Linked DNA regions of Homo sapiens: regions 2, 3, 4 and 5 are each linked to region 1. Evidence: promoter capture Hi-C in 16 types of primary human blood cells and fetal thymus (Javierre and others, 2016). All regions are on one chromosome and are shown on one strand. Each heading gives the region's core, a stretch centred on a gene start or on the middle of the fragment in contact. The rest is flanking DNA. Distances are from core to core; before and after follow the strand shown. Region 1 holds the start of BCL2A1 (BCL2 related protein A1). Region 2 overlaps FAH (fumarylacetoacetate hydrolase). Region 3 has its middle 7.5 kb from the start of FAH. Region 4 overlaps ZFAND6 (zinc finger AN1-type containing 6). Region 5 overlaps LOC124903536 (a long non-coding RNA gene).

Region 1 (3,006 bases), core at 212-2,711:
TTTATATAAAACTTTTTTTACAAAAAATGTTTTACAAAGAAGTATTGTTTATTTTCTATGGATAGATTCAGTAGGCATGTTTTGCATGCAAAATAATTGATAACAGTGGTTACCTCTTGGGAGAGGTGAAGGCCGTTGGAGAGAGGATCAATGAACACTTAAGTGCTTTAAAAAAATAATTATTAAGTATATTGGAATATAAAGGAAACCATATACATCCAGCTGTGTCAGGCTTTTTACCAACATGAGTTTCAACACAGGCCTCTACATAGTCTTGGCTTTTTTAGGCACTGATAATAAAGTAAATTTTTATTTGAAAATTCTTGAATAAAGGTTCTTGCTGGTCATACAGTATATTATGTTTTAATCAACAAACTTTAACAGCCCGGAATTTATTATTAGTAATAATGTGTTATATATTATATGTAATGTAATTTGCTATATATTAATATATGTTACTATTTATTATGTATTAGTAAACTGAAAAACACCAATTTGTAAGCGATGAACTTACAAAAATTTACACCTGTCTTTTGCAACCCATAAATACCTAAAAATAACAGCATCTGATAGCAACTTTCTGTGCTGATTGTAGAAATTTCTGTACTGTCTGTACTGTCATGACAACCCTAGCAAAAGCTAAGTACTAGATTAGAGTGTGTGCACAGCTGATTGTGAAGCTGCATGAGAGAGGTGCTTTATTAATCCCCAAAGCTCACTACTGTAATTTATACTGTTAAGAATAAAAACTGAAAACATAAGTGCTTTCCAACTATAAAGTTCAAGTTCAAGGATTCATTGGAAATAAGCCAGAAAGTATATTTTTATTTTAAAAATTAAAACAAACCACCCAAGGAAAATAGTATTCTTAGGTAAAGTGTTTTGTTGTTGTTTTAACTAGCAAGGAAATTCTCAATTTCTATTTCACAGGAAAGAACAATGAAGAATTTTTCCATCACACATACCCAGCCTCCGTTTTGCCTTATCCATTCTCCTGTGTTATTCATTATGAACTCCGCAACAAAATATGAAATCTCCTTATAGGTATCCACATCCGGGGCAATTTGCTGTCGTAGAAGTTTCTTGATGAGAATACCTTCAAATGCAAATATGGTTACAATTCTTCCCCAGTTAATGATGCCGTCTTCAAACTCCTTTTCCATCACTTGGTTGAATAGTGTTCTGGCAGTGTCTACGGACACAACATTAACATTGTCCAAGCATGACTTCAGATTCTTTTCCACTTCTTTTTGGACTGAGAACGCAACATTTTGTAGCACTCTGGACGTTTTGCTTGGACCTGATCCAGGTTGTGGTATCTGTAGGACGCACTGCAGATAGTCCTGAGCCAGCCTGTAAATATATCCAAATTCACAGTCTGTCATCTTCTGCCTGGTGGAGAGCAAAGTCTTGAGCTGGCTCACCTTGAAGCTGTTGAGGCAATGTGCTGAGAATGCTCACTGAGCTTGACTGAGTTATGACACATGATGATACATGGAGGCTGGTGGAATTTCTGTTTGCATCACTTTATAATATCCTTCCTCCTAGTCACTTTCGTGCGTAGGCTGTGTTTCATGTCATGTATGAAAGAGAAAGTTTAAAATGTGAAAGAGGAAAATGTTTCAGAGAAGCCACTTCCTCATCCTGTGATTAATTCAGCTTTGCAAGTCTTAAATGCAGGATGTGGAGAAATTAGAATCCTTGTAGATTGCTGGTGGGAATGTGAAATGGTACAACCCCTGTGAAAATGTTGGCAGTTTCTCAAAAAGTTAAATACAGAATTGTCAAAAGACCCAGCAATTCCATTCATAGGTATACACCCAACAGATACTCAAATACTTACATACGAATGTACATGGCAGCACTATTCACAATAGCCAAGATGTGGACACAACTCAAATGTTCATCAACAGACGAAAGGATAAATAAATTATGGAACATTATTCATCCCAAAAAAGGAATGAAGAACTGATACATGCTTCAACAGGAATGAACCTCAAAAACATTAGGCTAATAGAAAGAAGCCAAACAGAAAAGGTCATACATTATGTGATTCTATTTCTATGAAATATCCAGACAGTTAAATCCATAGGATAGAAAGCAAATTGGTGGTTGACAGGGGCTGAGAAGAGGAAGGAGTAACTGCTTAATGGGTAGAAGGTTTTCTTTTGTGTGATGAAAATGTTTTACAAGGCCGGCCGCGTTGGCTCACGCCTGTAATCCTAGCACTTTGGGAGGACAAGGCGGGCGGATTGCCTGAGCTCAGGAGTTTGAGACCAGCCTGGGCAATATGGTAAATCCCCGTCTGTACTAAAATACAAAAAATTAGCCAGGCGGGTGGCGTGTGCCTGTAATCCCAGCTACTCGGGAGGCTGAGGCAGGAGAATTGCTTGAACCCGGGAGACAGAAGTTGCAGTGAGCCAAGATCACGCCACTGCACTCCAGTCTGGGCAACAGAGCGAGACTCTGTCTCCAAAAAAAAAAAGAAAAGAAAATGTTTTGCAGCTAGATAGAGGTGGAAGTTGCACAACACTGCGAAGGTACTAAATGCCACTGAATTGTTCACTTTAAAATGGTTCTGTGAATTTCAAATTTAAGAAAAGTCTTAAACGCCATCCACGGGGTAAACCGGAGTAACGACAATTTGGAATGGAGACTACAAAACAGCCTGGGTGGCAGAGAACAGGGCCTCTCGAGGTGACTCTGGCAGTACCGCCCTTGATCATTTGTAATTGAGTAAGGATGATACCGAGAGGGAAGAAAAAAATACCCTCTTTGGGCCAGGCACGGTGGCTCACCCCTGTAATCCCAGCACTTTGGGAGGCTGAGGCGAGCGGATCACGAGATCAGAAGATCGAGACCATCCTGGCTAACACAGTGAAACCCCATCTCTACCAAAAATACAAAAAATTAGCCAGGCATGGTGGCGGGCACCTGTAGTCCCAGCTACTTGGGAGGCTGAGGCAGGAGAATCCTTTGAACCCAGGAGGCGGAGCTTGCAGTGAG
Region 2 (3,006 bases), core at 295-2,794, 200 kb after region 1:
GTGCCACCATGCCTGGCTAATTTTGTTTATTTTTTGTAGAGGTGGGGTCTCACTATGTTGCTCAGGCTTGTCTCAAACTCCGAGGCTCAAGTGATCCTTCCACCTCAGCCTCCCAAAGTGCTGAGATTATAGACGTGAGCCACAGTGCCTGGCCTGGTTTTTCATGACATGAATACAAACCCTGATAGTTTCAGTTTTACAAGCCTCATGTGGCTGTCAAGTCTTGAAAGGCAAAGGCTGTATGGGATGAAGAGGAAAGAGCAGAGTGGCCTGGGATGCACTGAAGGGAGGGGAGGCTGCTTTGGAGCTCAGGGGAGTGGAAGGAAGGCCGATGGCGGGGGCAGGGCACACCACTGCACTCTGCTTTCCTGAGGCGTCCATCTGACCTCTGACTTAGAAACACAGTGGATTCATGCCAGGCCCCTGTGGCAGTCCTGGTCCATGGCTGGAGTTTGGAAATACCTGACCTTTGCTCTCTAGGTGACAAGTGACCTGGGCGGCAGATCAGCTCCAGATTCTAATGAACTCTCCCCCATGTAAGGCTTTTTTTGTAGGCCCTGGAAACAGATTGGGAGAGCCGATCCCCATTTCCAAGGCCCATGAGCACATTTTTGGAATGGTCCTTATGAACGACTGGAGTGGTAATTACTGGAGCTCTGCTCCTGTAGAGATGACGGGGAGGAGGCTGGGGACTTGGGGCAATTTCATAGAAGCTGAAGATCTGGTGCAGGTCAAAAGTGGCAGGTGATGCAGTGACTGAGAGTGGGGGTCTGGGTATCAAACAGACTTTCAGCTCTAAGAACTCGGGCCACTCACTTAACTCCTCTGAGCTCCAATTTTCTCGAGTGGCTAGGGACACGGCTGACATCATAACTAATATTTACTGAGCACTTATGTGTCAGGCCCTGTGCTTAACACCCTTCGTATATTCTCCCGCTGATCCCTACACGGTATGTGCAATATTATCTTCCCATTTTACAGATGAGGAACTGAGGCACAGGGAGATTTCAGTTAGTTGCTGAACTAAGATTTGAAGCAAAACAGTCCAGCTTCTGAGCCTGAGCTCTCAACCCTTTGCCATACGTGGGAGGAAGATGGCACCATAAGCCCCAGAAAGTGTCTCTCTCATAGTTTGAGAATGAGCTTCCAGCCCCTTCCTGGGAGATATCCTGACCACCGTTTGGTCATCCTTCTCTTTGCTGTAACCTGGCACAGTGCCCTCAAAGGACCTCTGTCCTTGGCATTGAATGCTCTTGCCCCTTTGTCCTGGGGCAGCCTGACTGGGGCTGATCTTTGTGGAGATGGCAGTGCTAGGTGTCTCTGCTCCTTGGTCAAGGGCAGGAGGGGGTCGTTGGGAGATGCCCTGATCAGCCTTTGTAAGTCCTGGCTGTGCCCTTCTTCTGCAGCACGAGACATTCAGAAGTGGGAGTATGTCCCTCTCGGGCCATTCCTTGGGAAGAGTTTTGGGACCACTGTCTCTCCGTGGGTGGTGCCCATGGATGCTCTCATGCCCTTTGCTGTGCCCAACCCGAAGCAGGTAAGCACATTCTCTGCAGGAAGCTCCCAAACCCAGCCCTGCTGCCTCTGAGGCTGCTTGCCCACTGAGTGGACATGCCAGGCATGCAGACCATCAGGAGGGAAGCTCTGTGCCCACGGCATGCCCACAGCAGAGTGCCTGGGAGTTCCTGGCCACGATTACTTCCAGGCAGCCAGGGCATCATTCTCCCTTGTGGTTTCCCTGGCCCTGGCACAGTTCTTGGAGAAAACACAGAATTTTGTAACCTTAAGAATCTTGCAAGACCCGGGGGATCTGGCCAGTTGGCAGGAGGAGTCCCTGCAGGTACCAACATTGCACAACCTCCCAGGTGGCCATCAAATCTTGTTCTGTGCAAATGGCGCCACCTGGACCCCAACTCATAGAATGCAGCTTGGAGCCCAGCAACAGGGAGTCCCTGCAGCCTCTGGTTCCCGGCACCGCTTGGTCTACCACTGGGTCTAGGCCTTGACCCCTGGTTCCAGTCCTCCCTTCTCAGCCTGTTGCAATCTGCCCCACTCCATCACTGGCAACACCTGGCCAGAGTCACCTGTGACCCGATAGTCAGTGTCATGACCTTGTGTCCCCTTCAGCATGGACTTCCTGTGGCCCCTCACTCTTGTTGGCATTCCCTCACCCCTTGGTTTCTGGCATGTGACCTGTCCTCGTTCTCCAGTGTCTCTGAGTCCTCACGATGCCCCTCTCCAATTCTGACCTCCCTGTGGGGATCCAGGCTGAGCTCCCAGCCATTTGCACATCCTCGCTTGAGCATCTCACCACGCATTTGCTGGGGGCCTCTACCAACACCCGGTGCTGGTCCTGCACCCACACTGCTCTCCCATGCTCCTCTGCCTCTGGGGTCATCTCATGTTTGCTGTGCTACAAACAACCCTGAGGTCTTTCCTTGCAAGCCAGTTCTAGTGAAGTCCTGTGGGGCTTTCACCCTCATCCCTTGCTCTCTCCTCGCTGCTCCCTACCACAGCACCCCCTGCCCACCCTGGTCATTTTCAGTCGCCAGGACTTGACTTTCTCTCTAGCTGGCAGCGGCCTTGTCTAGTCTCCCTAGGGCTGCAAGGCCACAGCCTCTCTTTGCTTGTCCTCCAGTCATCTGCCTTCTTCCGGGTCGGTCATCACAGGGTTTTGCCTGCCTTCCTCTGTGCCAGCCCTTCCCCAACACCATTTAGGTACAACACTACTATTCCCCCTCTGAACTATTATTTACTTAATGTTTTCCTTCAGAGTGGCTCCCAGTTTAAACTTAATATATTAAGAAGGGAACTTTATATTCCTACTGGCATCACTAGCTACACTGTTTCATAACCATTAGTATCACCAAAAACGATCTCATGTCCCGTGGGTGACTCATGTACCATGCTTTGGAAAACACTGCTTTTGGCCGGAGTGCAGGCGTTCTGGCCCAGCCATCCAAGCTGCCTCCCTAGCTGGCTCCAGCACCAGCCAGGGCTGTCTAC
Region 3 (3,006 bases), core at 342-2,841, 170 kb after region 1:
ATTCTAAAGTTTATGTGGAGGGGCAAAGGCCCAAAATGGCCAATGCGATACTGAAGAACAAAGACTGATGCTACCCAACTTAAACACCTACTATAAAGCTCCCATAATAAAGACTGGTATTTGCAGAATATATCAGAGAGCCCAGAAATAAACCAATACAAATATAGTCAACTGATCTTTGACAAAGAAGAGAAGACAATTCATGGAGAAAGTCTTTTTCATAGGAATACTTTTTCAAGCAGTAGTGATCAGCTGTACATTTACATGCAAAAAAAGTCAATCTAGACACCTTGAACCTTTCACAAAAGTTAACTCAAAATTTATCATAGACATAAATGTAAAACACAAAAATGTAAAACTTAGAATATAAGAAATTCAAGGTTTGGTTTCGATTTTTCTAAGTAAAACACTAAAAGCATAACTTGGGAAAGAAAAATTATTGATGACTTGGACTCTGTTAAAGTTAAAAACTGCTCTGCAGAAGCTGCTGTTAAGAAAATTAAAAGACAAGCCACAGACTTGGAAAAAATTAGCAAAACACATAAAGGGCTTTCATTTAACATATACAAAAAACTCTTAAAAGCTTAATTGTATGAAAACAGTCCAACCTAAAAATGGGCAAAATATCTGAATAGATATCAAAGAAGATACACTGATAGCAATTAAAAAAAAAAAAGCCTGCAGCCTCAGCTACTCAGGAGGCTGAGGTAGGAGAGTCACTTGAGGCCAGGAGTTTGAGTTTGGTCTGGGCAACATAGTGAGACCCCATTTCTAAAAATTTTTTTTAATGATTTAATAAAGTATACTTGGTTAAAAAGCAAAAGTGTCCACACAAAAACTTGCACACTGACATTTTAGCAGCTTTATCCTTAATTGCCAAAAATTGGGAGCAACCAAGATGTCCTTCAATAGGTGAACAAACAAACTGTGGAACATTTATACAGTGAAACAGTATTCAACAAAAATAGAAAGGAACTTTCAGGGCAGGAAAAGACATAGAAGAATCTTAATGCATATCGCTAAGTGAAAGAACCCAATCTTAAAAGCTACATACTATATGATTCCAATTATATGACATTCTGGAAAAGTCAAGACTACAGAGACAGTAAAGAGATAAGTGGCTGCCAGCGGTCCAGGGGATGAATAGAAGTAGCAGAAGGGATTTTTGGAAATTAAGAAAACAATCTCATTTACAATAGCTACCAAAAAACCCCCAACCAAACAAAACACTTGGGAATAAATTTAACCAAGGAGGTGAAGGACCTGTACACTGATAACTAGAAAACATCAATGAAAGAAATTGAAGAAAACAGAAATAAATGAAAAGATATGGCCAGGCGCGGTGGCTCAAGCCTGTAATTCCAGCACTTTGGGAGGCCGAGGCAGACAGATCACCTGAGTTGGGAGTTCGAAACCACCCTGCCAACATGGAGAAACCCTGTCTCTACTAAAAATACAAAATTAGCCAGGCGTGGTGGCGCATGCCTGTAATCCCAGCTACTCTGGAGGCTGAGGCAGGAGAATCGCTTGAACCTGGGAGGTGGAGGTTGCGGTGAGCAAAGATCGCGCCACTGCACTCCAGCTTGGACAGACAACAAGAGCGAAACTCCGTCTCAAAAAAAAAAAAAACAACATAAAAGATATCCCATGTTCATAGATTGGAAGACTTAATATTGTTAAAATGTCCATACTACCCAAAGCAATCTACAAATTCAATGGAATCCCTGTCAAAATTGTAACGATATTTTTCACAGAAACAAACAAACAAATCCTAAAACATGTATGGAACTGCAAAAGACGCTGAATAGCTAAAGCACTCTTGAGCAAAAAGAACAAAGCTGGAGGCATCACACTATCTGACTTCAACATCTACTACAAAGCAGCCAGATGTGGTGGCTCATGCCTGTAATTCCAGCACTTCGGGAGGCTGAGGCAGGAGGATCACTTGAGCCCAGGAGTTTGAGACCAGCCTACACAACATAGCTAGACTCCATCTCTACATTTTTTTTTTAAATATTGGCCAGGCATGGTGGCAGATGCCTATAGTCCCAGCTATGCAGAAGACTAAGGTGGGAGGATCACTTGAGCCACTGGGAGGTTGAGGCTGCAGTGAGCCGTGATCATATCACTGAATTCCAGCCAGAGAACAGAGCAAAACCCTGTCTCTAAAGCAAAGCAAAACAAAACAAAATGAATCTACTATATAGCTATAGTAATCAAAACAACATGGTGCTGGCATAATAACAGACATATTGAACAGAATAGAGAGCCCAGGAATAAATCCACAGATTTACAGCCAGTTGATTTTTCACAAAAGTGCTGAGAATACGTGATGGGGAAAGGACAGTCTCTTCAATAAATGATGTTGGGAAAATTGGATATCCACATGTGGAAGAATGAAATTAGACCCTTATCTCACACCATATATAAAAATCAACTCAAAATGGATTAAAAACGTAAACTTAAGAAATGAAACTGTAAAACTAGAAGAAAATGGGAAAAGCTCCATGTCATTGGTCTGGGCAATGATTTTTTGGATATGAACCCAAAAGCACAGGCAACAAAAGCAAATACAGACAGATGCGATTATATCAGGCTAAAAAGCTTCTGTATAGCCAAGGAAACAATCGACAAGAAAAAACCTAGGAAGTGGGAGAAAACATTTGCAAACCACACATCTGATATGGAATTAGAATCTAAAATAAATAATGAAGTCAAACAACTCAATAGCAAGAAAACAAGTAACCTAATTCTTAAAAAATGAGTAATGGATATGAATAGACATTTCCCAAAAGACATAAAAATGGCCAACAGGTATGTGAAAAAATGCTCAACATCATTATCAGAAAAATGCAAAATAAAACCACGATGAGATATCATCTCACACCTGTTAGAATGGCTATTATCAAAAAAACAAAAGACAGCAAGTATTGCAGAGGCTGTGGAAAACAGGGAACCCTTGTACTTTGTTGGTGGGAATGTAAATTAGTACCGCCATTATGGACA
Region 4 (3,006 bases), core at 235-2,734, 150 kb after region 1:
CTAGGTAAAAAGACATAAAGGAAAAACAAATTTTTTCAAGAGCATGGTTTTAGCTAATTAAAGCTGCATAATATGTTAACATTGAATAAATAAATGGAATTTAAAAGGTATACTTAAATGAAACTAATAAGAATTAATGAATGCTCAGAAAATTATAGGTTTTCAGGGATATGATGGACTTTGACAGTTCTCTTTTTTGTTGTTGGTTTTGTTTTGTTTTGTTTTTTAGATCAAAAGACACTGACTTAGCTGCTTACCAGAAGGGGAACTTGGGCAAGTTACTAAGTCTTTTTGAGTATCATTTTTTTTTGTTTTTAAAATAGGGATATCAACAGCACCAACATCATAGTGTTCTTGAGAGGATTAAATGAGATATAAATAAACAATAAAAAGAGTTCCTGGCACATAGTAAACTCTGAATAACTGTTAAGTATTGTCTGGGATGTTAGAGGGAGTAATAGGTTGGGGATTTGACTACGAATGTTATGAACAGTCAAAAGTCACATTTTATGAATTCTCTTCAATTCATAGGCTTTTGTTTATTATACCATGCTAATCATTTTTAAAGTATCTGGTAGAGTGATCTTACTCTCTGTCTCTGGATTTGTGGTTTTATAATTCCACAGTGCAGCAGTTAAGGAATTGTTCTGCCTTTTCTCCCCTTATCCCTTTTCCTCCCTGATCATTTGAATGCCAGACTGATTGCCCCAAAAAGGTATAGTAGCAAAGGGAGGGAGGCAGGACTTCCAGTTTCTTCATAGCTACCCCATCTATGCCATTACACATTCAGATAAACTAAATTACTCTTTATGGTTTTTTGTCTTTTTCAGTCTTTCTGACTCTTCATGTAAAGGTACATTTTATGGCCTAACGATTAATAAATAAGACTGATTCTTTTTTTTTTTTAAGAATCCTGTGAGAAACCCTTTGTGCCTCTTGAGTTATGAAAATCATTGTTAATTTGATGCCGTGCAGGCAGTTTGACTTGGGAAAATTGGTAGTGTTACAAGTTTTCAAACTTTAATCTTAATGTTTTGAAGTAATTGTAATGAAAAGCTTAGTGGTCATATTGTACTTTCATCTATGACTTTTTACTTGAGTTTTTATGGAAATATATTTATCCTTTTACTGTTTGGTTGCTAGCCATATATTTACCAGTATCATTGGGAGAGTTCCTTTAATTCCTCTCTTACACTTTAATGTTGTTAATAAGCAGTATAGCATAGTTGGTGGTTTAGACCCGAGTTCCTCAGTCTTTTTTCTCTATTTTTTCCCTAAGGAGCCTTTTTAGGTTTTTTTTTTGTTTTTTTTTTTCTTAAGTGGCCCCCACCTCCAGAAGATTTTAACTCCAGAGAGATATTGCAGGTCTGTTTATGTATTTTATGTATATCTGTGTTTTATACAAGAGTAAGGGTTTTTGTGACCCTTTCCTCCAAAAATCAGTGTTTTCTCCCTTGAGGGGCAAACTGTCTATACTGAGAGTGCACGTTTTATAAGCAGTGGATTCTCAAAATTTTGGTGTAAATATCCCGAAGGGCTTTTGTGTGTGAGAGTTATATCTAGTGAAATCATATTAAAAATTAAAGCTGAGAAAATGTTTTAAGTACTAGTTTATTTTAAAATATTTTAGGAAAATAACCACTTTCCTCTCCCCCACACTTGTTAATGAGAAGAGTGGCATTGTTAACACATTTTTGCAGATTTTTTAAAAAGTCTGCCTTAATAACAACATTCTAGTAGTTGCTTTGGCATTCAATCTGTTATAGTGTTATAAAGAAAATCTGGGCTCATATGTATTTGGAAAGAATATTTTAATAACATTATCAGATAATAGAGGTTCTTTGATATTACACTAAAACTTGACGATAGTTTCTTAAAGGATAGTTGCAGTGTGAAATTGAAACCATACAAGACAAGCTTGTTCAATCTGTGGCCCAACACAAATTCATAAACTTTCTTAAAGCATTATTTATATATTTATTTATTTTAGTTCATCCACTGTCGTTAGTATTAATGTATTTTATATGTGGCCTAAGACAATTATTCTTCCACTGTGGCCCAGGGAAGCCAAAAGATTGGATACCCTGATATAAAACTTTTTGTCCTGTTACATTAAAATTCATTGGCTTTTCACTTTGAATGGATCTTCTGTTCATGAGTAATTTCTTACTATTTCTTGCTAAGCAACCAACATTGGTTGCTTAGAAAATACTGATTCAGTGTCTTAGGATGATATTTCAAATATTGATATAGTAGCAACTAATCACATTTAATTAATATCACCATGAATCTTATCAGAAACTCTCAGAATATTGGAGATGCTTGTCAAGGTTTTTTTCACTTGACTGTTGTCTTTGATAACAGATACTATTAGATGTTTGAAGTGATGAGTGCACTTTGTTCATTTACAAAAATATCTACTGAATACTCTTTTTTTTTTTTTGAGACGGAGTCTCGCTCTGTTGCCCAGGCTGGAGTGCAGTGGCACGATCTTGGCTCACTGCAAGCTCCGCCCCCTGGCTTCATGCCATTCTCCTGCCTCAGCCTCCTGAGGAGCTGGGATTACAGGCTCCTGCCGCTATGCCTGGCTGATTTTTTGTATTTTTAGTAGAGACGGGGTTTCAATGTCTTAGCCAGGATGGCCTCTATCTCCAGACCTCGTGATCCTCCTGACTTGGCCTCCCAAAGTGCTGGGATTACAGGCATGAGCCACCGTGCCCAGCCTGAATACTCAGGTCTTAATAACCAGTTTATTAGTCATTCTTTCAAATAAGAAACGTGTTCCATGAAAAAGGCAGTTCAGTCAGCTCACAACTCAAACAATTGCACAGTGCTTTTTCTTCAGTCTTCATACTTCTTTACACAACAGGAGTGCTTCATGCATGCTTCCCGGTTTGTCATGTAAAATGTTAAGATGTGTATTCAGGGTCAAGATTTAGTAAAATTAATAATTTTTACTGTGAGAGCATGGTGATGAAGAGTTGACTACTAGTACAGTTGGGTGCC
Region 5 (3,006 bases), core at 145-2,644, 140 kb before region 1:
CCTTCAAATGCTTGCCTTCCAATAACCCTTAAGAAGCTTTTCTTTGTATCACAGTACATGAAAATAAGGTTAGTTTCTCCATTGGAGAGGAGCCAGCAGGGGTGAGAAAGGGTTCCAGAGACGAGGGTCAGAACTGCACTCTAGTCCTACCACTGGTAGCTGGAAAAAGAACCTAATTTGGAGATACCGAATTATCAAGTGATAGTAAAATAGCCAACAGCCCACAAAGTGCTGATCTACAAGGCACAGATGTGAGATCAAAGTAAAACAATGGTTAGCAAAGGGACTGGTAAAGCACTGAACAGACATGAATGCTGCTACGCGTGGCCAGATCTGCTTTATAGATGAGGAAACTGCCCATCAAAAGAGCCAAGGTGACCCGTCCAAAGCCTCACAGAGAACAAGAGGCAAATTCAGGACTAGAATGCAGGCCAGTCTTCCTACATGCTAGGAATCAGTATTTTTGTTTTCTTCTTCTCTTTTTTAATAATCATATTACTTAGATTTTTGTGTATGATAAAACACACAAGACAGACATGGTAACATTTTGCATCCATTGATCTTTTTTCTATGCTGGTTCCTCCCCACCAAAATACAATTATTGTGATACACTGCTTTTATTTTATTTTTTTAAAAAAGAGCTTGGACATTCTTCCTCTTTAAATATTTGTGTATGATGTTTTTAATGACAACAGAGTGTACAACTGGCATGAATGTAGCAACCCCTTATTATTGTATGGTTGTATTTCACTGGGTAGCAGCAGTCATCACTATTACAATAAAACAGCCTCATGCTGAATATACTTGTATAGAACTTTTGCAAATCGCATACATTATTTCACTGGGATGAATTCCTGAAAGTAGAATGACAGGGTCAAAAGTCATAGAAAATTATAAGATTTTTGTTATATTCTGCCAACTTTCTCTCCAGAAAGACTAAAAAACATACACTCTCCCAGCAGTATGAGTGTCCATTTCCCTGCATCATAGCCCAAACTTAACTGGTTTGATTATTTTTTACTACTCACATGGTTTCAGCTTGCATTTCTTTGATGAAATGTGAAATTAAATAGTTCTTATATTTGTGGCTATCTGTGTCTCCTCTTGTGTGAATTACCTGTTTATGTCCTTTGCCCCTTTACCACTGGGCACACTTCATTGTTTTCCTACTGATTTGAGTAGCACTTACTGGGTAGCCACGGACTAGGACAACCATAGACCTCCAAAGTGGGAAGCATCCTCACATGAGCCAGAGAGAACCACAGGAACTGGTCTTGCTAGATAGCCCTGAGAAAAGGAATTGGACCATTTTGCCCTCCTGCATGAGCTCCACTTCTGCTGACAGCTGGTCCTGGAGAAGGCTGAAGCAGTTGAGGGAGGGTCCACAACAGGACACTACTGCCTCTGTTCTGATTCTGGAACGGGGGAAAGAAGATTGGGGTGGAGGTGAGGAGAAGAGAAGGGAAGGACAAGAGAAGAAAAGGAGAAAAGGAGGTGGGTGAGAGACGAAGGGGAGGGAGTTGGTGCAGGACAGTGGGGAATCCACTGGAGAGGAGCCAGCAGGGGTGAGAAAGGGTTCCAGAGACCAGGGTCAGAACTGCACTCTAGTCCTACCACTGGCAGCTGGAAAAGAACCTAATTTGGAGATACCCTCAAGCAGGCAAAGGAAACTTACATTAGTGGAGGGAGGAAGGGAAGGGGCAAGTGACTACTACAATTCCCAAGCCAAGTACCCTGGGCTTATACCTGATTCCCAGAATCCAAGTCCCTTTCCACAATATCCCTCTGCCTTCTGCATGAAAGCCATCGCAAATTAATGTACCTCTAAGAGGCAAATAACTTCCTCTTAGATTGAACTGCTAGCAAAAGACCAGTCATTTGTCATCTCTGATTAAAATGTCCATGGAAAAAATTAGAAATAATTCAGCAAAGAGAGCTACCACTCTCTCTTTGGAGAGAGTTACAGAATGCAAACTAAAGTCGAAGGTGGTGGTAAAGGCAGCATGCTGCCCCTCTGCATATCAGAATAACCAGGCTCCTTCCTGCCACTATATATACAGGGTTCATTGGGTGGGTGGGGTCACTAGGGTCACCAGAATATGCAACCAGAGCAAGAAGGACTCTAAAGAGCCACTTATTCAGTGCTTCTCAAGTGTGCCTTTGTCAGAAGCACTTGCTAGCACAACAAATCAGTCTTTTTTTTCTGGAAATTCTGGTTCAGTACATCTAGGATAGGACCAGAAAAATCAACATTTTTAAACAACAGACTAAGGTGGTTCTTATGATGTGGCAAGGAGTTGATTTTGTCCAGTGCATCTTACATTCAAATCACCCAAAGAGATTAAAAACCACTATCAGGGAGTTCCATTTCTGCCTTTGATAGGCTAATATATTCAGATCAACTCTACTACCAAGAACAAATAGAAATGCCCTGTTTGAACGCATCAGAGAGCTATCAAATGTGGTGAGGTCTTACGGCACCAAGATCTCAGAGAGAAAGAAAGCACAGAACTGAACCTGATATTTGGCACAGCTTTTTGCCTCAAAGCATTTGTTGATTCTTAAGAAAAACTTAAAAGCTGAGAAGTTGTGCTTTGTAGAAACTGATCAGTGAAGAAGCCAAGAGGAGAAATGAAGTAGAAACTGGCAGCCAGGAGTCTACAAAGCTAAGCAGAGCTTTGCTGCCCCACCATCCTGGGGAAACAAAAATAGTGCAGCCATCACCAAAAAGGAGCGGCCCTGGTATGCAACCCAAGCTTTCAGAAGGAACTCCTGAAGCCTGGGAATAAGGACTAACCCAAATAAGCCAGTATTCACAAAAACTAAAGACTGGCTTCAAATCTGCTCAATCCCAGACTGGATTATAACAATCTGCCCCTATCTTGACTTCCAAAAGCAGAAAGAAGTAAATGCTCTAAGGGGAAAATAGCATCATCCAGAGGCTCAAATTCTCTCTTCAGTTTTTCATACACAATGCCTGACATTCAATAAAAAGTTACAAAAACA

The links. Contacts are between HindIII fragments. The CHiCAGO score rates a contact against its expected background, and 5 or more counts as called.
Region 2: a contact is called between a fragment that was not itself captured here and the fragment with the promoter of BCL2A1 in region 1, in 6 of 17 cell types (M2 macrophages, naive CD8 T cells, megakaryocytes and 3 more). The highest score is 7.0, in M2 macrophages.
Region 3: a contact is called between a fragment that was not itself captured here and the fragment with the promoter of BCL2A1 in region 1, in 1 of 17 cell types (neutrophils). The highest score is 5.6, in neutrophils.
Region 4: a fragment that was not itself captured here is called in contact with the fragment with the promoter of BCL2A1 in region 1 in 1 of 17 cell types (total B cells); the score reaches 5.6 in total B cells.
Region 5: a contact is called between a fragment that was not itself captured here and the fragment with the promoter of BCL2A1 in region 1, in 1 of 17 cell types (neutrophils). The highest score is 6.1, in neutrophils.

Annotation. Positions count from the first base shown.
Region 1 is chr15:79,969,735-79,972,740 of GRCh38, forward strand. BCL2A1 (BCL2 related protein A1) reads right to left here and starts at 1,462. Exons shown (of 2, transcript NM_004049.4): 1 at 966-1,462. The coding sequence starts at 1,385. RefSeq lists an enhancer at 886-2,085. The HindIII fragment of the contact is 17,831 bases long and covers 1-3,006 here.
Region 2 is chr15:80,171,608-80,174,613 of GRCh38, forward strand. It overlaps FAH (fumarylacetoacetate hydrolase), which reads left to right. Exons shown (of 14, transcript NM_000137.4): 8 at 542-641; 9 at 1,407-1,537. Among named protein-coding and RNA genes, the nearest start is that of FAH, 20 kb to the left of the region's middle. The HindIII fragment of the contact is 8,594 bases long and covers 1-3,006 here.
Region 3 is chr15:80,143,964-80,146,969 of GRCh38, forward strand. No RefSeq gene overlaps it. Among named protein-coding and RNA genes, the nearest start is that of FAH, 7.5 kb to the right of the region's middle. The HindIII fragment of the contact is 2,021 bases long and covers 582-2,602 here.
Region 4 is chr15:80,114,798-80,117,803 of GRCh38, forward strand. The region is part of intron 2 of ZFAND6 (zinc finger AN1-type containing 6); the gene reads left to right. Among named protein-coding and RNA genes, the nearest start is that of FAH, 37 kb to the right of the region's middle. The HindIII fragment of the contact is 861 bases long and covers 1,055-1,915 here.
Region 5 is chr15:79,824,915-79,827,920 of GRCh38, forward strand. It overlaps LOC124903536 (a long non-coding RNA gene), which reads right to left. Exons shown (of 2, transcript XR_007064730.1): 2 at 1-3,006. Among named protein-coding and RNA genes, the nearest start is that of MTHFS, 71 kb to the right of the region's middle. The HindIII fragment of the contact is 2,720 bases long and covers 35-2,754 here.